Linked DNA regions of Homo sapiens: regions 1, 3, 4, 5, 6 and 7 are each linked to region 2. Evidence: promoter capture Hi-C in 16 types of primary human blood cells and fetal thymus (Javierre and others, 2016). All regions are on one chromosome and are shown on one strand. The core of a region is centred on a gene start or on the middle of the fragment in contact, and the rest is flanking DNA. Distances in the headings are between cores, read along the strand shown.

Region 1 (2,768 bases), core at 237-2,736, 450 kb before region 2:
TCGACTTCAGGGAAAACTGGGTTCACTCCTCCAGGGGCTCTCTGACCCAGGCTGCCCGCCGACCAGGGTGCTGCCGCTTTTCCTCAGCTCCCTGGCTCCTACTCAGGTCATCCAGGAGCCCCAGCAGAAGGCCCGCTTGACCATAGGCTCCCTGGGGCCCACAGGGGCCTCCCAGGGCCCTCTTGCCCGGATGCTGGCGTTTTTCAGGCATCAGGTCTTCCTCTCTCTCTTCCTCCTCCTCCTCTTCTTCCCAGCTCCTTTGAGCCTTGGGATCTGCCAGCCTTCTGCCTGGGTGCTGCCGCTTCGGGACAGCATATGCAAGCCAGGGGGAGCGCCGGCCAGGATGCTGCCGCTTGTGCTGGGTTACATCGACTGACCATGAAGCCTCATCTTCTCGTCGGCCAGGGTGCTGCCGTTTGTGGGGTCCCACAGCCCCCCCTTCTTCCTCTTCCTCTTCTTCAACTCCCTCTTCCTCCTCCTCCTCTCTTTTGCCTGGATGCTGACGTTTGGAGAGCCAGTCAGATTGAAAGATCTGGGACGCTGGGGAAGGAAAGAGGTCAGTGAGGGGCCCCTGACCCATGTAATAGGCAGGCGCCTGAGTGCCCACTCCTGCTTTTCTCCCAGGCAGGGTACATTTCCTGCAGCTCCCACTCAGAGGCATGGTCTTGCACCTGCCCCTCAGGCCTCACAGATACACACATTCACACAATAGTCAAAGGCATTGCCTCTGGGTTCCAATCCCAGCTCTGGCGCTCCCTAGTTGTCTGACCATAAGCGACTCAATTGATCTCTGGGAGCCTCAGTTTTCTTCTGTGTAAAATCGTAATAACAGTACCTAACTAAGAGGTTGTTAGGAAGATCAAACAGTGTGATAAGGTGTTTGAAGTGCTTGGAATAGTGTCTGGCACAGAAGTGCCTAGACAGTAGTAATTCAAACTGTCACACACAAAGAAACTCTCTCCCTAGCACACAGAAGCTTCCCCACCCAGGGCCTGCTCTCTGTGAAATATTCCCAGCATTGAGACAGGGGAGGAATCTGACCCCGAGGAATGGTCAACTCCAGATCCCGCCTAGGCGCAGCCAGGGAGGGTTTCTGAGCTTCCGAAAGGCAGAAGGCTAGCTGACCAAGCCTCCCCTCCCCTTTGCCGGCAGGTTTCCACGGCTCTCCCAATAGCCTAGCCCCACAGCCCCCAACAGCCCCATCCACTCACCGGAGTGCTCACCCTGGTCCCCTTGCAGCCGCTGGATGTTTTCCCGGAGGAAGAGGAGGCGCTCCACCTGGCGCAGGAAGTCATCCAGGCCCGGATGCTCCGCGGCCGTCACTGCCTCCTGCTGGGCCGCCTCTGGCTGAGCACGGCCGCCGGGGACACCGGTCAGGTTCAGGGTCAAAGCCAGAGCGAGCAGCAACCAAGGGCCGGGCATCGCGGCGTCTGGGTTAGGGGACAGAGGGAGCCTGAGCGCACCGAATCACAGCACATCCCGCTCCATCTCCCCCGACGCCCGCCAGAAACAAACCACGCACAGTTCAACCGCCCTCCCAGAAGCAGGACCACTGCCCCTCGTGCAGGGGCGGGAGCAGCGGCGGGTTCGCCCCGGCTCTGCGTCCACACCTGTCACCTCTAGGCGTCCTCGCCCCCACGGGTGCCTGTAGTGCCTGCGCCCAGTTCTGCTTGCGCAAGGCAGGAGGCCGTAGGAACCCCATCGCCAGCGCCACCGCCACCCTTCAATGTGACGCGGAACTGGGGAAGCCAACGCTGGGACTGCCTCGCCGGGAGTGCAACCATTGAGATTGCAGCGCCAGGCACAGCCGCGACGCTAACGGTTGCGTCCCCGCCAAGACTCCCCCAAAGGTCCCCATCGCCACGTTCTAACTCCAAGCTCCGTGGCCGACGTCCTCATTCCAACGCGAAGATCCCATTTCTATCGCTAAGATTCAGGTTCTAAAGCTCAAAGTCTATTTGCAAAGCTAAGATTCTATTTCTAATGCTAAGCTTTCATGACTAAGCCAGGAATCTGATTCTAACGCTAAAATCCTAACTTCAACGCTAAAATTCTATTTCTAGCGTTGAGATTGGGATTCGAACTCCCAGGTTCTCAGGCCGACGCCCTGAATACCCAGCTCTGTCCGGCGGCACCCAGGCAGGGGGTGCCGCGGAGCTCCCACCCCGCGCTGCGGACTCTGGCGACCTGAGTGCCCAGCAGCGAGAGCCTCCGATGTGCCCGCGCCGTGCCTCCCGTCGGGTCCCCGGCCTGCGCTCGGGGAGGACCCGGGGGTGCGAGCACAGCGCCCGCCTGTGCACCGGCCCTGTTCTCCAGGAAGCTCTCAGAGAACCGAAGGTGAGGGCGGGCCGAGAGGGCTCCCTTTCCAGTGCTCCCGGACACCGTCTGCGGAAGGAGAGGGGTTGGGGCGGTTACCTGCCAGGAGTGGGCTCCACAGGATGGGTCCGGGATCCGGGGACTCGGGATCCGCAGTCGGCAGGTCAGGAGTCTGCAGCGCTGAGGACCCCGGGCGCCTGCCGAGCCCTCTTCAGATGGGCCGCCGCTTATATCTGCGCCAGGCGGCGGCTCGAGTGAGGTCAGCGGGGAGGGGTCGCGGCCGCCGGGAAGGGGCGCTGACGGCAGCCGGCCCCGCGGGACCCCGCCCGCCTGCTCCTCCGGAAATCTGGGGCGGGGACGGTGGGGACCGGAGCCGGGGCGCGGAGGCACTGGCCGCAGGATGGGGCGCCGGCGCGGGGTCGTTTCTGCACCACCTCTGGAGATCTGTTGAC
Region 2 (2,827 bases), core at 312-2,811:
TTGTAAACTGGGACTGACCCTGCAGAGAACAACCACCCGTAAGTGGCACACCCACCTTCTGGCCAGAACTGAGTGATCTGTGATTATTGAATGCAACAAACACCCAACAATGGCCAGAGATTCCCTGAGAATGGGACCGAGGCAGCAGCCTGGACATGGGGGAGACAGGGCAAGGCTGGCAGAGAGACGCTTGTGGCTGGCGGTAAGCTCTCCCCGTCACCCAGCTTTGCAATGGCTGCTTCTAGCGTCTCCTCCTGCATCTCAGCAGAGATATTCCTGGATCACAGCCAGGAGACCTAGGCTCTTGTTGCTGCCTGGCCACATCCCTAAATGAGTCTCTTCCCCTCTCCCTGCCTCAGTTTTCCTCTCTGTTAAGTGGGATCTGTTATCCCTGCAGCACCCCATCTGTTTTCCTGTTAAATGCAAGACATTATTCTAAAGCAAAAAGGAACTGCTTCAGAGCGGCTGCTTGCGGTTCTCAACACCAGGAGACTTGGAACGCGGCAGGGAGGCTGGAGGGGCACCTGAGGACAGGGGCTGAGAGGGGAGGCAGAGGATGCCAGAGGGGACCGAGCCCATTGCCCAGCACAGGGAAGACCCAATGACTGGAGAATGGAAAATCCACTTCCCACCCTGAGCTTGGGCCCCCAGAGAGGAGGGGTCTGGCTTGCCCAGCTCTCCCTCAGTGCCCAGCCTGGGTCTGACTCAGCACAGCTGCTCCAAGGGAAACAGAGGCTTGGTGCTGCAAACATGGCCCGAGATAGATGCGGGCTTCCAACTCAACTCTGCACCCGTCCCTGTGTGACGCCCCAGCAGGGCGCTTGACTTCTTTGAGCCTCAGCTCAGTTTTCTTGCTGTGAAATTAGACAAGCGCATATTGCTCCAAATAAGATCAAGGCAGTGTTCAGTGCCAGCCCTGCACAAACAGCAGCCCGGCTATCACCATGAATGGTGTTTGTTGACTGAATATATGAGGGCTTTGGATAACATTGACAGGACAGGAGAAGGGAGAAGGCCTCTCAGCCACCACCGCCAAGCCCGGGACTCTCCCAGACCCCTCCATGCTCCCGGGCTCCTGCACACCCCACCCACACCCGGCTCATACCGCCCAGGGTGGCAAAGAAGCCCTCCAAATTGCATCCTGTGGGCCCGAAGACGAAGTATCCATGCAGAGAGGTGTAGAGGGTGCTGGTGAAGCCACCTAGGACCATGAAGAGGTCAGCCACGGCTAGGTTGAGCAGGATGTAGTTGAGAGGCGTGCGCAGCTTCTTGTGCTGGACGGTGACGTAGAGCGTGAGGAAGTTGATGGGGAAGCCCAGCACGATCAGCAGAAACATGTAGGCGGCCAGCATGGAGAACTGCCATGGCTCAGCCAGGTAGTACTGTGGGTACTCGAAGGGGCTGCGTACCACACCCGTCGCATTGGAGAAGGGCACGTAGAAGTTAGGGCCTTCTGTGCCATTCATGGCTGTGGCCCTTGTGGCTGACCCGTGGCTGCTCCCACCCAAGAATGCTGCGAAGGCCTGAGCTCAGCCACTCAGGGCTCCAGCTGGATGACTCTGGGTTCTGACCCCCCCAGACCCTTATAAAGTGACCTCCCCCTCCTAAGCTCCTGGCTGAATCAGCATCTGGGAGATTGGGGGTGTTCATAATCATATTAATCCCCGCTGCAGAAACTGAGGGCCTAATTGGCTTCTAAGAGGGGCCAAGGTGACACTAGGAGGAAGCCTGAGGTCAGGGAGGAGAGGTACTCAGGATCCAGGAAAAGGGAGGAGAAGGTCCCCTAACTTCTGCATGACTTGTCTGTCCCAAGGTCCCAGCTCAGTCTGGTGGCCTGGGTTTGAAATAGGGACCATGGGCCTCTGTGCTATGTCCTCTGGACAGCTAGAGACTTTCTGGTTTATTCTCCCAGTCTCTCATCTCGTCACACAGCCCCTTACCTGTTCGTTCCCCCACAAGTTACCTCTGGAGTCATCCAGTCCCCACACTCCTCTGACAGGAGGAGCTCCATGAGGGCAGGGGCTGCAACCTGCAGCTTCCGTTTCTGGTGCCAGACACATAGCCTAGGGCCCAGGAGCCCAATCCTTGTTGCATGGAATTGGAATTCACTCTCTTGTTCGTTCATTAAACATTTATTTGCAGGCCCCTGGGAATACAAAGATGGAAAGAAACAGCCCTGCCCAGAGGAGCTCAGGGGCTGAGGAGGACTCAAATGTGGGAAGAAGCAGATTCCGTCCAGGGTGGCTGTGAGGTTGTGGAGACAGGGCCTGACTGCCTGGGGGTTGCAGTCTGGGAGGCCATGTTTGGGCCTTTGAGAGAAGGAGCAGTTTGCCAGGTGGCTAGGTGGGGAAGATCTGGGCTGGGGGCAGTTGTAATGGGTCTTGAACGCTAGGCCGGGGAACCTGGCTTTATCCAGAGGAAAGTGAGCAGTGGCTTGGGCAGATCACTGGTGTAGAAAGGTGACTCAAATGCCCCCAAAGATGGAGTGGAGGGAGGGAGGATGGAGGGGGCTACCAGAGCAGGGGAGGGGCAGAACCCTTCAGGGGACTCCAGTCTGAAGGGGAGGCTGGCCCTGGAGGCAGCAGACAGGGCACTGTTGGGGGAGGCCTAATCAGCCACGAGGGCCTCAAATGCCATGTACCAGGTGGCCCCACGAGGGCCGATTCCAGAATAGCAGGATGTACCGTGAGAAAGAAAGTAGTCAGAGCCTTGGGGGCAGATGACTGGGGGAAAATGGAGGCCAACACTGGCAGGTCCCCCTCTCCCCGTCGTCCAAGCAACATGATGACACCTCCCAGGAATGAAGTGGGGTGTCTGGGGCGGCCTG
Region 3 (2,872 bases), core at 94-2,593, 380 kb before region 2:
GCACCATGCCAGGCCTAGAGCTGAGATTTAAATCCAAGCTGTTTGGCATTCAGGAACTCAATGTTATCTCTCTAATCAGGTAGCTCAACAGCTCTCATTTTACAGAGGAGGACACTGAGGCCCAGCCTGTTAGTTGTGGCATCAGGACTGGTTTGTGGGGGCCCAGCCTGGTGAGCTTCCACCACTCTCTTGGACTGTCCTGTTGACAGGGCTGAAGGTCCTGGCTTGAGACAGGACCTGATGTTTCTCTGGTGCCCCTCCCACCACTTGCTGAGTTAGTTGGATCTCAAAGGTAGGATCCTGCTGACCTTGTCTCTGGATTACTGGACAACAGGGACTGAGAAAGTTATGTTTAATTAGAAGAGACACAGGCCAGCCTTCATGGACTTAGTTGTATCCCTCTCTGTCCCACCACTGTGACATCTGTGATATTGTCTTCCCTGCCCAGCACCCCCTTTTCTTCTGGGAACAACACCTTCTTTTGGGGACCTGTTCCTTTCTGCTTTCTAATCACTATGTAATTTCAGTGGGTGTTATTGGTCATACGCTCATGGCCACAGTTGATCGGTCTAGGGATGGGCATTGTACTCAAAATGGGCCAATCAGAGCCTTTCCCTCAGATTTGCTGGACTGGACTGACGCAGGATACAGGTTTTCTAGCATGAGGCTCAGGAACTAATGGCAGCCACATCCCCCATTATGGGGAGAAAGCTGATCTGATAAAACTAGGAAAAGCAGAGAGGGGAGAAAGTGTCCAAGGGCCCACTTGTCTCTGAGGCCCTCCCTGCACTTCCCAAGGCTATGTTCCATAAGCACACCAGCATTCTCCCAATAAATGGCTCTGATTTTGCATATGCCTATTTGCTTTGGATTTCTATCACTTGAAGACAAACTAGATCAATAAGCCTGAGATCCCAATCACTAGCAATCCTGACCGTGAGGCCCCGGCAGGGAGGATGTCGGAGTTCTGTTCCCCTGGAGCTGACTGGCTCACTGAGTGGTCTCGAACTCCTGAACTCATGTGATCCACCCACCTCGGGCTCCCAAAGTGCTGGGAGTACAAGCGTGAGCCACCGTGCCCAGCCACAAATCTTAAGAATACATTTCTGGCTGGGTGCGGTGGCTCACGCTTGTACTCCCAGCACTTTGGGAGGCTGAGGTGGGCAGATTACCTGAGGTCACGAGTTCGAGACCAGCCTGGCCAACATGGCGAAACCCTGTATCTACTGAAAATACAAAAATTAGAATTAGCCAGGTATGGTGGCATATGCCTGTAATCCCAGCTCCTTGGGAGGCTAAGGCACGAGAATTGCTTGAATCTTGGAGGCGGAGGTTGCAGTGAGCTGAGATGGTGCCATTGTACTCCAGCCTGTGCAACAGAGCGAGACTCCATCTCAAAAAAAAAAAAAAAAATTTCTGTAGACATACTTACCTGTGTAACCACCACCCAGATCAAGACACAAAACATTTCCAGCACCCAAGAAGACTACTGTGTACTTCCCAGTCAGTGTGCTTGCCCCCGCCCACTACTGTTCTAGCCTACCTCTGTCATCATAGGCTAGTTTTGCCTATCCTTGAACTTCATGTAATGGAAATGCACAGTGTGTGCTGTTTTGTGTCCAGCTTCTTCTACTCAGCACAATATTGGGGATGCCTAATCTGTAATACTGGCCCCTATACTCTTCATCTTCATGCTGCTCCTGGAATGATAGCTAGCATTTGTTAGGTATCTGGCACTGTTCAAGATCTTTACATTATATATTCATTTGCTCCTCATAGTACACCTATGAGGTAAGCACAAACGAAGACACTGGGGCACAAAGAGGTGAGGGAATTTGCCCAAGACACAGATCTGAAGTGGCATAATTAGGATGGGAAGGCAGGCCATCCACCTCCAGTCCATGCTCACACCTAACAGCTAGGGGATCTCATATGCACTTTAAGGACTGAGAGAGACTCTCCAGGTAGAGCTGAGTTTTTGGAGGGTCAAATGGGAAAACAGAAGTAAAAATGTACTAAAAAGAGAAAAGAGTTATACAAATATAAGTCAGGATTATACTTCATTTAATATGACTAGGACCACCATTCACTCATTTGTAAATCTTAATAAATATTAATTAAATAAATATTTAATTAATATTTATCAATATTTATTGATTTAATTAATATTTAATTTAATATTTATTAATTTAATTAATATTTATTGAGCTCCTAAAGATACATGGAGGTCAGTGGGTTCAGAATGACAGAGACAAAGTCCCTGCACTGGTGGAGCTTACAGTCCAGAGAGGAAGGCAGAAATGTAAGGGGAAGTTATGGGTATGTTGAGCTAAGAGGAAATTCAGAGTGTTTTGAGAGAATGTCATAAGAGCAGCTGACTTTGTGGGGTCAGGGAAGGCCACCCTGAGGAAATGACATTCAAGCTGAGACCTGAACCATTTAAGCCAACTCTGTTGGAGAGGAAGGAGTATCAGGAACAGGGAATAGCATAAGCAAAGGCCCTGAAGTAAGAAAAACTAGCACAATCATTAGAAATTTTAAGTCATATCACTTCTTGGCCTTTTGGCTAAGATGAAGTGTCGAAATTTTTTTTTTTTTTTTTTTTTGAGATGGAGTTTGTGGCCCAGGCTGGAGTGCAGTGGCATGATCTCTGCTCACTGCAACCTCCGCCTCCCAGGTTCAAGCGATTCTCGTGCCTCAGCATCCCAAGTAGCTGGGATTACAGGTGCAAACCACCACACCTGGCTAATTTTTCTATTTTTAGTAGAGGCAGGGTTTTACCATGTCGGTCAGGCTGGTCTTGAACTCCTGACCTCAAGTGATATGCCCATCCCGGCCTCCCAAAGTGCTGGGATTACAGGCATGAGCCACT
Region 4 (2,738 bases), core at 124-2,623, 430 kb before region 2:
CTCCATCTGCCTCTCCAAGTCATATCCCTCCTTCCCCAGCTTGACTCCCACTTGTCTAGGAAGCCTGTTCTAATGCCAGTGAACTTTTTCTGTCCTCCTCTACAAAGTCGTGACTTTTCCTTCCTCCACACCTGAGGCTCAGAGAGGTGAGGTGATTTTCTCAGGGTCACACGTCTCAAAAGCAATAGAGCTGGGATTCAAACTCAGGTCTATCTGACTCCACAGTCCAGTCTCCTCTCCCTCTTTCTTTCTTTCTTCTTTCTTTCTTTCATTCTTTCTTTCTCTTTTTATTTCTTTCTTCTCTCTCTTTCTTTTCAGATAGGGTCTCACTCTGTCACCCAGGCTAGAGTGCAGTGGTACAATTATAGCTCACTATAACCTCAAACTCCTGGGCTCAAGTGATCTTCTTGCTTCAGCCTCCCGAGTAGCTGGGACTACAGGTACACATCACCACACTTGGCTAATTTTTTTATTTTTTGCAGAGACAGGTCTTGCTGTGTTGCCCAGGCTGGTCTCAAACTCCTGTCCTCAAGTGATCCTCCTGCCTCAGCCTCCCAAAGTGCTGGGATTACCGGTGTAAGCCACCACGCCAGTCCAAAGCAGTCTCTTTCTATTACATTTTCTAAGATGCTAGAATTTAGGAGTTACATTTCATGCACATTTAAGTTGTATCCATATTTTATTATTATAAGCAATGCTGTAATGAACATCTTCACAGTTTAGTTTATGTTATTAGCATGAATTCCTAGGAGTGGAATTAAGGGTCAAGGTGGAATTAAGGGTCTGAGCATTCATTCAGTCAACAGATATTTCTCATCACTGCCACTGCTGCCAGTCTGGTCCATCCTCACTCACCTGGATGTCTATGGGGGCCTCTTAAGTAGACATACTTCTTCCTCACCTCCTCCTGTGGTATATTGAAAATTAGTCCCAATTCTTCACCTCTTCCTGCAGCCACACCTCTGCCAATGGGATGGATAGATTTCCGTCTCCCTTAACCTTGGCCTTGGCTATTGAATGGCACTGGTCAACAGGATGGAGCATAAGTGGGCCCCCACCTGGGATTTAAGAGCATTTTCACTCGCCCTCTTGTGCTTCTGCCATGGCCACTGGAACATGCCTTGGCTCACCCGCTGCTGCTGGGAGGAGAATCAGATACAGTTGGAGCAGAGCCACTCCAACTTGTCTGCAGGCCTATGAGATGAGATGATCATTGTTTGAAACCACTGGGTTTTGGGGTGGCTTGTTATGTGGCATTATTGTGAAATAGCTGACAGATATGCCCCCCACCTCCAATCTATTCTCCACACACCACAATTATCTCTTTAATATTTTTTAAATAATTTGTGCTTTATGTGCTGTAGAACTTTGCCACTCCATGCCCAAGGACCCTAGGAGCAAGCTGATGAGATACAGGAAGCAGAGGTGGCTGATCAGGCCACAGTACACTCAGATCTCTTCCACATTCATGAGGGTTGACTGAGGCCAAGGTTGCTCACAGAGGAGGTGGAAGAAGCCTGCAACCCTCCCTGGAAGGAGAAAGGGAAGGCCAGTCCCCAACATTTACCAGGGCCTGTTTCATCCTCTCAGGGCCTGTTTCAACCATGGTTCTAACTATCCCCATTCCACCCACAAGAAAACAGGCTCAAAAAAGCAAAGTGGTTTTCCCAGAGTTGCATGATGAGGACATAGCAGTAGTGGGATTGGAACCCTGGCCAGCCTGTTGCCAAGGTATGTCCTGCCCTCCATGCCTTGGCTGGCCTGATCCTAGGGAGTCAGATCAGACCTCTCCCTATGATCACCCCTTCTGCCTCTGGTTATGGCTACTTTCTGGCTGTTTGACCTGAGGCAAGTGATGTCACCTCTCTGGGCCACTAGATTGGAAACTCTGGGAGCAGGGAATTTCTTTTGGTGACTGCTCTATCCCTTCATCTAGAACAGAGCCTACCACTTAATAGATGCTGAAGTAAAGAATGAATGAAAGAATAAATTAATAGTTCTATTTGCCTATCTCTTCATCAAAACCCCAGGATTTCTTCTGTTGAGCACCAGACAAAAGGGTGCTTGAATTTGGAGACTATTTTGATAGCCTCCGAGTGCAGAGAGCCCTGGGAATAAGGCCAGCCTGACTCTAGCCCAACTATTCTCCAGGAGAAGTGACTTATTTGCTCCTCAGTTTCTTCTCTATCAAGTTGACCTCATTGTAGTTCCTACCACAGAGATTGGGTGAGGTTGATTGAGATGTAAGCCACCTGCCACACAATTAGTACCTAATAGACAGGTGGTTGCCATCTGGACTAATGGTAGATGTTTAGGCTAAGTGACCAGCTGAGGATATGACTGGGCAGAACCGTCAAGATGCCCTAGAGGGGAATGTTGAGGTCTCCAGGCAGGAGACCTTAACTATCTCCTGAGAACAGTATGAGCAGTAAGGTCTCTGGCTCTGGGCAGATGGGGGCATGGACAGGAAGGGGGTGAGAGAAGCAGACTCCTGGCTGTTTCATTCCTTCTCTGAATTAGGTCCCCACCAAGCTGTCCTTGGATAGGAGGGACGCGGAGGTGGCAGGCACTTGTAATGAGCAGAGAGCTCGCCCAGGCAAGGCCGGCCATTGATCGCCTGGCTCCTGACTTGTTTCAGCAGCAAGGGAGGAGGGAGAGGGAGTATGTGTGTCCCCAGGAGCAGCATGCAAGTGTCCAGGCATCAGCGTGACCCTGAAGTAGAGATGGCGGGGGGTGGC
Region 5 (2,700 bases), core at 82-2,581, 400 kb before region 2:
AAACAAAACAAAACAAAACGAAAAAAAACAAATAGAAACTTTAAAATTGAAAAATATATAACAAGTTAACAATTCACTGGAGGGTTCAGCAGCAGATTTAAGCTGGCAGAAGAAAGAATCAGCTAATGTGAAGACTGGTCATTTGCAGTGATCTAGCCTGAGCAACAGAAAGAAAAAAAAATGAACAGAGCCTCAGATAACTGTGGGATACCGTAAAGTACACTAAAATACATATAATAGAGGCCTCAGGAGGAAATGAGAGGATAGTGAGAAAAAGGCAGAAGGAATATTTGAGACATGATGGCCAAAGACTTCCTAAATTTGATTTCTTTTCAAAACAGTAATCTACAAAATCAAGAAGCTCAACAGGTCCTCAAGTAGGATACATTCAAAAGATCCACTCCTAGACACATCATAATGAAACTATTGAAAGCCAAAGGCAATGAATGTAGGAAGTAGCAAGACAGAAAAAGACTCATCATATACAAGGGATCCTCAATAAGCTTAACAGCTGATTTCTCATCAGAAACCGTGGAGACAAGAAGGCAAAGGGATGGCATGTTCAAGGTGCTGAAAGACTCACCAAGGCTTGGTGCAGTGCCTCACACCTATAATCCCAGCACCTTAGGAGGCTGAGACAAGAGGATCACCTGAAGCCAGGGATTCAAGACAAGCCTGGGCAACAAAGCAAGATGATGTCTCTACAAAAAAAGTGAAATATTAGCCAGGCATGGTGGCACACACCTGTAGTCTTAGCTGTTTAGGAGGCTGAGGCAGGAGGATCACTTGAAACTGAAAGAAAGACTCAATCAAAAATTCTGTCTCTAGGAAAACTATCTCTCTCTTTTTCTTTCTTTCTTTTTGTGACAGGATTTCACTCTGTTGCCCAGGCTGGAGTGCAGTGGTGTGATCACAGCTCACTGCAACCTCAAACTTCTGAGCTCAGATGATCCTCCCACCTCAGCCTCCTAGGTAGCTGGGACTACAGGCATGTGCCACCATGCCTCACTAATTTTCATATATAATTTTTTTTTTAGAGATGAGGGTTTCACCATGTTGCCCAGGCTGGTCTCTAACTCCTGGGCTCAAGCGATCTGCCCACCTCAGCCTCCCAAAGTGCTGGGATTACAGGCATGAGCCACCACACCCGGCAGGCAGATGGATTTTAATCCAGTTATATACTGTTTACAAGAGATACACTTCAGATTCAAATATTCAAATAGATTGAAAGTAAAAGAATGAAAAAAATATACTATGCAAACAGTAATTAAAATACAGCTAGAGTGGCTATATACGATATCAGACAAAATAGGCTAAGACAAAAATTGTTGCTACAGACAAGGACATTTTATGATGATTAAAGTTTCAGTCCAGCAAGAAGACACAATAATTATTAACATATTATGCACCTAACAACAGAACTCAAAATGCATGAAGCAAAGTCTTGGTGGGGGTGGCGGATGGGCACAAGTTTCTTTATTTTTACTCAACCCCCTAGCTAGGATTGTCAGATAAATACAAGACACCCAATTACATTTAAATTTTTAATAAACAACAAATAATATTTTCAGTGTAAGTATGTCTCACATAGTATTTGTAACCTAATTATACTAGAAATTTATTCGTTGTTTATCTGAAATTTGAATTTAAAAGAGCATCCTGTGTTTTAATTTGCAATACCTGGCAACGCTATACCTATCACATTTCTATTATTTGCCATCCCCTGAAGACATTTGAGTTTGCAACCACCACTGAGGGCACATTTTTAAGCAAAGGACTAGGTCTTCCTTCCTTATGTAATTCAAAGCTGGTCAAATGAGAATTTGGACTCTTGGTCACCAGGGGAAGCGGTTCTTAAATGTACTGATTCTTGTTTTAATGACAAAGGTCTCCCTTCCTCCCTCCTGACTTCTTCCTTCCCTTCCTCCCTCTTTTCCTTTCTTCTCTCTTTTTTTTTCTTCTTCTTCCTCCATTCTTCCTTCTCTCCCTTCCTTCCTTCCACAAGCATTCTTTGAATACCTACTATGTGTGGAGTCCTGCCGTAGTTACCAGAGTGGCACAATGAGGCATAAAGCACATTTCTTTTCTCTCTGGCACTCAAACCTGCACCCCCAGAGACATCAATCTAGAACTCTGCACCAGCATCACCCGGAAGCTTGTTACAACTACAGATCCCAGTCTCACCTTAACCTCATAGCAAATAGAAGACTAGAGGTTTGGCCTAGGAATCTGAATTTTCCACAAATGCCAAATCAGATCTGTATAGTCCACCAGGCTCTGGAGGTGCATCAGAAGACTCTAATCTAGGTGAGCTTCCCACCCATCCTGCGAGTCTCCTCTGTCGTGTCCTGGCGGGCCATCTCCTAGCTCCTGCTCGCACATCTCCAGGGCCATCTCTCCCTCGAGGGACCTAACCATGAGAAAGTGTTCCCCCACGGGAGCTGGAATCCAAGGCTGGGTCACCAGAGCTACCCAGAGTCTTCCTTTTACCCAGAGGTATCCTTTTTCCATACCAGACACCAGTGTCCCTTCAGTTCTTTCTGAAGTTTTCCTCAGGGCAAGCTGTCCAGGTGTCTCACTCTTGAGCTGGGGGAGAGAGACAAACAAGGAGGACAGGTCCCTCATTAAATGAGCAAGCAAGGACATTGGCCCTGTGGGTGGCAGGAGGACATCTTCGGGGTGTGCTGGCTATTTAGGTTG
Region 6 (2,940 bases), core at 6-2,505, 360 kb before region 2:
ACTGGGCCTTCTTGATAGTAGAATATTTCCCCTTTTCTGCAAGACTGCTTATGCCTCTCATAAATGTGCAGAACATATAATGGCTCAGGGCTTAGGTTTAAGCTCCTCAGAGTGGCATTTATGGATCATTCATTAATTCATCAAATGTTTATTGAGCCCTTACTTTGTTCCAGGATGTTTTCTAAGTACTGGGCTACATTGTTGGGACAAAACAGACAAGGCCTCTTCCCTAATTAAGCTTTATTCTGTATGTATGGGAATGAGGAATATACAACAAACAAGCAAATAGGATCATTTCAGATAATGATATAAATCAGTGGTTAGTAAGCTTTTTTTGGTAAAGGACCAGGAAGTACAGTACATACCAGGGTTTTTGGGCCATATGATCTCTTTTGCAACTACTCAATTCTGTTTTAGTACAAAAGCAGCCACAGACAGTACGTGAACAAATATGTTTATATTCCAGTTAAACTTGGGACACTGAAATTTGAATTTCATAAAATTTTCACATGTCACAGAATATTAATGAGTTTTTAAAAATATTTTCCCCTAGCCATTTAAAAATGTAAAACCATTCTTAGCCATATAAAACGGGGCAAGGTGGATTTGGCCTATAGATTATAGTCTGGCCTTTTATAGAAAATGTTTGCTGACCCCTAATATGAATTATGAAGAAAATAAAACAAGCTGATGTGACAAGTGAATGACTGAAAGGTGGGTGGAGGGTTACTTAGTGAGAGGAGGCCTCATTAAGGAGAAGGTATTTGAGTTGTGACCTGAAAAATGGTAGCGCTTTCCTGGTAAATGAAACAGTGAGTGCAAAGGTCTGCAGGTGCAGATGAGCTGCTCTTGTTTTCCAGTGTTGAACTTCCCCACATAACATGTCATTCTTACATTTTATGTAAATACATTTTATGTCTTTGTTAGAATGTTGTTCTTCATGTAATAGGATGGTACCTTTCCGTTTCCTCTTCCTGATCCTGCCTTACAGTACCCATGGAGTAAGACTGCAGTGGAGTTGCACCTCATCCCAGGGTTAGGTCCTCAAGTTAGTGCATGAGGCAAAAATCATGTAAGATGAAAACTCTTCTGGAAAATTCCATAAATTGCTCAAAAAGTATGGTCTGCATGTTTTTGTATGTATAGTTGTATAAAATTCTTACGAATATGAAAGGCTGAGAGCCACAGAGCTTGACTGAGGGAAAGAGCAAGAGGAAATAAATTGTTATATAGGTATCTGGGCCTTCAGACTGTTTGGCTTTTTAAAACTGCTCTGGAGTCCCTATCAGAGAGTGGGGGATGGTATAGAATTTTGACATGTTCCTGTTTCCATGCAGGGTTTAATTCTATTTTTATGTTAAGCCTCTATTACATTAATACATGCTCATAGATGTGTTGCGAATATTAAACAAGATAATGTATTTGAAAGAGCCCGGCACTTAAGATAGTCAGTAAACATTTGCAGAATTAGAATCTGATTTTTACTTCTTTGGGCTCACATACATACTGTCCTTTGAAAAGTTGTAGAGAACTTAGCCACCTGCTTCCTGTCTATCCATATTGGCATTTCCTGTTGTGGCTCCACTGAACAGCTGTCACTCTCTTTGTCCTTGAGCATTGGTCACATTTTGCCAGAGGTTGGCTTGTAAGTTAAATGGGTATAGGTGTAACTCTGTTAGTTCTGCCACATGACCCTTAAAGTGTTTGAGCACTGCTATTATGTCTCCTATTTAAGTCTTCACTTTTCAGAGCTGAATGTTTTTATTTTTCTTTTTTTTAAAGATATTATGGAGAGAGATGGGGTCTCATATGTTGCCTAGGCAAACTCCTGGCCTCAAGTGATCCCCCTTGCCTTGGCCTCCAAAAGTGCTGGGTTTATAAGCATGAGCCACCATGCCCCAGCCATTTTAATTTCTGTTAGCTTTTTCTTATTTCTTCACCCTTCTGGTTGTTGTGAGCTTAGTTTATTCTTTTTTTTTTTTTTTAACTTTGCTACTCTGAAGTATATTTTAAGGTACAAATTCAAGTTTTATCTCCTTGACCAAATCTTTCCTGATAATTCTAGACCTTCTTTATATTCTTAATATAGTTTTATCTTTACTCTTCAATTTAATTTTTTCTTATTTTTGTATTTTATACTAGTTTCATGAGCATTTGTCTTCACTCTGCGACAACAAGCTTCTTGAAGGCAAAGACCATATTTTAAGTATCTTTTGTGTCCTAGATGCACTGAGTAAAATTCCAGGGATGCCGTTGATCATAAATTTGTTATAATTTTTAAAAATAGACTTTAAAATTTAGATTTACAGAAACATTGCAAAGATACTGCAGAGTTCCTGCCTATCCTACACTGTTTCCCATATTATTAACGTCTTACATCCCTGTGATCATTTGTCTGTATTAATAAACCAGTATTGATACATTATCACAGAGACCATACTTTATCAGGTTTCCACAGGTTTTTTCCTTAATGTTCTTTCACTATCCCAGGATCCCATCCACAATACCACATTACATTTAGTAATTATGTCTCCTTAGCTCCTCTTGGTTGTGACAATTTCTCAGACTTTCCCTGTATTTAGTGACCTTGGCAGTTTTGAACATTACTGGTCAGGTTTTGTTTGTTTGTTTTTTTGAGACAGGATCTCCCTCTGTCACCAAGACTGGAGTGCAGTGGAACGATCTCATCTCACTGCAGCCTCAACACTCTGGGGTCAAGTGATCCTCTGACCTCAATGTCCGGAGTAGCTGGGCCCAGAGATGTGTGCCATCATGCTCTGCTAATTTTTGTACTTTTTGTAGAGATGGGGTTTCACCATGGTGCCCAGGCTGGTCTCGAACTCCTAGAACCAAGCAATCCACCCTCCTCAGCTTCCTAAAGTGCTGGGATTACAGGCGTGAGTCACTGTGTCCAGCCGTGGTCAGGTATTTTTATAGAAC
Region 7 (2,700 bases), core at 85-2,584, 470 kb before region 2:
AGACATGGCCTATGTTGGCAGATCCTTGCAAAAGAGGAACTTCAGGTATTTTTTTTGAGTAAAAACTGCTTCAAGCCATTTTTGGAATCAAATAGAGTGGCTACCAGAAATAGGCTGATTTCATAGTTAGGCATAGTGGTGCGTGCCTGTAGTCCCAGCTACTTGGGAGGCTGAGGCAGGAGAATGGCTTGAACCTGAGATTGGCTTGAGCCAAGATCGTGCCAGCCACTCCAGCCTGGGCAACAGAGCAAGAGAAGGAAAAGAAAGAAAGAAAAGAAGGAAGGAGAAAGAAAAAGAGAGAAAGAGAGAGAGAAAAAGAGAGAAAGAAGGAAGGAAAGTCAGAAAGAAAGAGAAAGAAGGAAGGAAGGAAAGTCAGAAAGAAAGAAAAAGAAAGGAAAGAGAAGGAAAGAAAGAAAGGAAGAAAAAGAAAGAAAGAAAGAAAAAGAAAAGAAAGAAAGGGAGAAAGGAGGGAGGGAAGGAAGGAAAGAAGAAGGAAGGAAGGAAGTTGATTTCATTTCAGCCAGGCGTGGTGGCTCACACCTGTAATCCCAGCACTTTGGGAGGCTGAGGCAAGCTATATCACTTGAGGTCAGGAGTTTGTGACCAGCCTGGCCAACAATGGTGAAACCCTGTCTTTACTAAAAATACAAAAATTAAGGCCAGGTGCAGTGGCTCATGCCTGTAATCCCAGCACTTTGGGAGGCCGAGGTGGGTGGATCACCTGAGGTCAGGAGTTCAAGACCAGCCTGACCAACATGGAGAAACCTCGTCTCTACTAAAAATACAAAATTAGCTGGGCATGGTGGCGCATGCCTGTAATCCCAGCTGCTCAAGAGGCTGAGGCAGGAGAATCATTAGAACCCAAAAGGTGGAGGTTGCAGTGAGCCAAGATCACGCCATCACACTCCAGCCTGGGCAACAAGAGCAAAACTCCGTCTCAAAAAAAAAAAAATTAGCCGGGCGTGGTGGGTGCACCTGTAATCCCAGCTACTCGGGAGGCTGAGGCAGGAGAATCGCTTGAACCCAGGAGGTGGAGGCTACGGTGAGCTGAGATCTCACCACTGCACTCCAGCCTGGGTGACAGAGTGAGACTCCACCTCTAAAAAGAAAAAGAAAAAGAAAAAATAGATTGATTTCAAAAAGATTAATCACTGAAAATAGCTGTTGTTGGAAATGGTGTGGAGCAATGAGTTCTCTGAAACCTCACTCACTATGGGTGGGTGTATAAATTGGGAGCGGCTTTCTATGGAGCAGTTGGCAGTATTTGTGAAAATGTTAACTACCCATGCCCATTGTCCTAGCAATTTTGCTTGTAGGTGTTCTATCCCACAGAAACTCGCATGTCTATACAAAGACAGGAGCAAGACTGCTTATGATGGCGTTGTTTATAATCAGGAAGTGCTGAAAATAACCTAAATATCCATCCATAGGGGTGTGCATAAGTGACTTTTGATGCACCCATGCGTCAACCATTATAGTGATTAAAAAGAACAAGGGAAATATCTAACGACTGACATGAGGACAGCTCTAAGATGTGCGGTGGTATCAGAAAAGTCTTGAGACAATAGTGTGCAAATATATGTGCATGTGGCTGTGTACAAATGTAGAGAAAATGATCTGGAAAGTTACAGCCCTGGTCCCTGTTGCCTGGCATGTTCCAGAAACAGCAAGGAGGCTAAGGAGGATGGTGTGAATGAGGGGAGAGTAGGAGGAGCTGGGTCAAAGAAGTCGCAATAGGCAGAGGACATTGTCCCTGCTGGGTGTGCAGGACCCTCCCCCTTGGCCACCACAGTGCAGCTAGATCCACCAGCTCATGCCCAGAGTTTCTGGTTCTTCCCTGTATTAATGATACCTTTCTATCTTCTATGTTTCTGATGCTTTGACATCTGGGGTCTTGGTAACCCTGGAGGGATTGCTCCTCCCAGGGATGGCCAAGAGATAGTAAAGGACTGGCCTGTAAGTGTGCATTTAACATGCAAACTAATCAATGCACAGCCCCCACCCGCACCACCCCCTTTATCTCTGGGCTCTTTCACTCCAGGCCACTATTCTCCTGCCCTAATCACTCCAGGGCCAGGTACCAAGCATCTAGGGTCAGCCGCTATGCCCCAAAGCCTGCTGAAATTATTCAATCTAGCCAATCCTAAGCCTGTTTACCCTGCCTCACCTGGAAACTAAAGTAAAGGATCTTGCCCCATTTGCCCCTCACACCCTCTGCCTCCTGATTGACCCTCATGCCTCTCCTTGTGGCTCTTCCTGGCATGGCATGCCCCCTCCTCTTGGGACCTGTGAGTAACAAACTCTTTTCTGTGGCAGTCGTCTCCTGAGCTGTTGGTCTCACTGTACTTGAGTAATAATAAGACTTACATCCGTATTTGAAACACACCCCACAGGGTGTGGGATGGAAAGACCTCAGAGCCCCCAAAATGACCAAATGATGCCAGAAGTACAAAAGAATTTATCGTTCATTGGCCACAGAACCAAGGTTGACTAATGAGACCCAGGAGACAGGAGGGATCCAGGTAGATAAACCCCCTCTCCTTCCATCTTTCTCTGGACTATCTGAGACTGGATTTCTCCTTGCAGTCCTCCTGGAGGTGTTCTGTGTAAGGTGGGTGTACCTCCAGAGCAGCCACGAGGGTGATTGTGGAGTGATGGCCTCATGGTACCACCCTTCCCATGGCTTCCCTGCTCCCTTTC

The links. The method cuts DNA at HindIII sites, captures the fragments that hold promoters and counts their contacts. A CHiCAGO score of 5 or more calls a contact.
Region 1: a fragment that was not itself captured here is called in contact with the fragment with the promoter of RHO in region 2 in 2 of 17 cell types (naive CD4 T cells and erythroblasts); the score reaches 5.5 in naive CD4 T cells.
Region 3: a fragment that was not itself captured here is called in contact with the fragment with the promoter of RHO in region 2 in 1 of 17 cell types (neutrophils); the score reaches 6.9 in neutrophils.
Region 4: a contact is called between a fragment that was not itself captured here and the fragment with the promoter of RHO in region 2, in 2 of 17 cell types (erythroblasts and neutrophils). The highest score is 6.9, in erythroblasts.
Region 5: a contact is called between a fragment that was not itself captured here and the fragment with the promoter of RHO in region 2, in 5 of 17 cell types (neutrophils, naive B cells, erythroblasts and 2 more). The highest score is 10.5, in neutrophils.
Region 6: a contact is called between a fragment that was not itself captured here and the fragment with the promoter of RHO in region 2, in 2 of 17 cell types (M2 macrophages and M0 macrophages). The highest score is 9.2, in M2 macrophages.
Region 7: a contact is called between a fragment that was not itself captured here and the fragment with the promoter of RHO in region 2, in 5 of 17 cell types (neutrophils, naive B cells, erythroblasts and 2 more). The highest score is 6.5, in neutrophils.

The regions. Positions count from the first base shown.
Region 1 is chr3:129,974,471-129,977,238 of GRCh38, reverse strand. It overlaps TRH (thyrotropin releasing hormone), which reads right to left and starts at 2,519. Exons shown (of 3, transcript NM_007117.5): 1 at 2,416-2,519; 2 at 1,212-1,430; 3 at 1-540. The coding sequence starts at 1,422. The coding sequence ends at 23. It also overlaps the pseudogene LOC124906284. The HindIII fragment of the contact is 1,015 bases long and covers 979-1,993 here.
Region 2 is chr3:129,527,373-129,530,199 of GRCh38, reverse strand. It overlaps RHO (rhodopsin), which reads right to left and starts at 1,561. Exons shown (of 5, transcript NM_000539.3): 1 at 1,106-1,561. The coding sequence starts at 1,466. RefSeq lists enhancers at 159-884, 885-1,610. The HindIII fragment of the contact is 8,320 bases long and covers 1-2,827 here.
Region 3 is chr3:129,910,951-129,913,822 of GRCh38, reverse strand. No RefSeq gene overlaps it. Among named protein-coding and RNA genes, the nearest start is that of TMCC1-DT, 19 kb to the right of the region's middle. The HindIII fragment of the contact is 8,267 bases long and covers 1-2,872 here.
Region 4 is chr3:129,955,871-129,958,608 of GRCh38, reverse strand. No RefSeq gene overlaps it. Among named protein-coding and RNA genes, the nearest start is that of TRH, 17 kb to the left of the region's middle. The HindIII fragment of the contact is 5,965 bases long and covers 1-2,738 here.
Region 5 is chr3:129,927,398-129,930,097 of GRCh38, reverse strand. No RefSeq gene overlaps it. Among named protein-coding and RNA genes, the nearest start is that of TMCC1-DT, 35 kb to the right of the region's middle. The HindIII fragment of the contact is 1,652 bases long and covers 506-2,157 here.
Region 6 is chr3:129,888,967-129,891,906 of GRCh38, reverse strand. The region is part of intron 1 of TMCC1 (transmembrane and coiled-coil domain family 1); the gene reads left to right. Among named protein-coding and RNA genes, the nearest start is that of TMCC1, 3.3 kb to the left of the region's middle. The HindIII fragment of the contact is 1,850 bases long and covers 331-2,180 here.
Region 7 is chr3:129,995,844-129,998,543 of GRCh38, reverse strand. It overlaps the pseudogene LOC124906284 and the pseudogene RPS17P9. Among named protein-coding and RNA genes, the nearest start is that of TRH, 22 kb to the right of the region's middle. The HindIII fragment of the contact is 3,275 bases long and covers 1-2,700 here.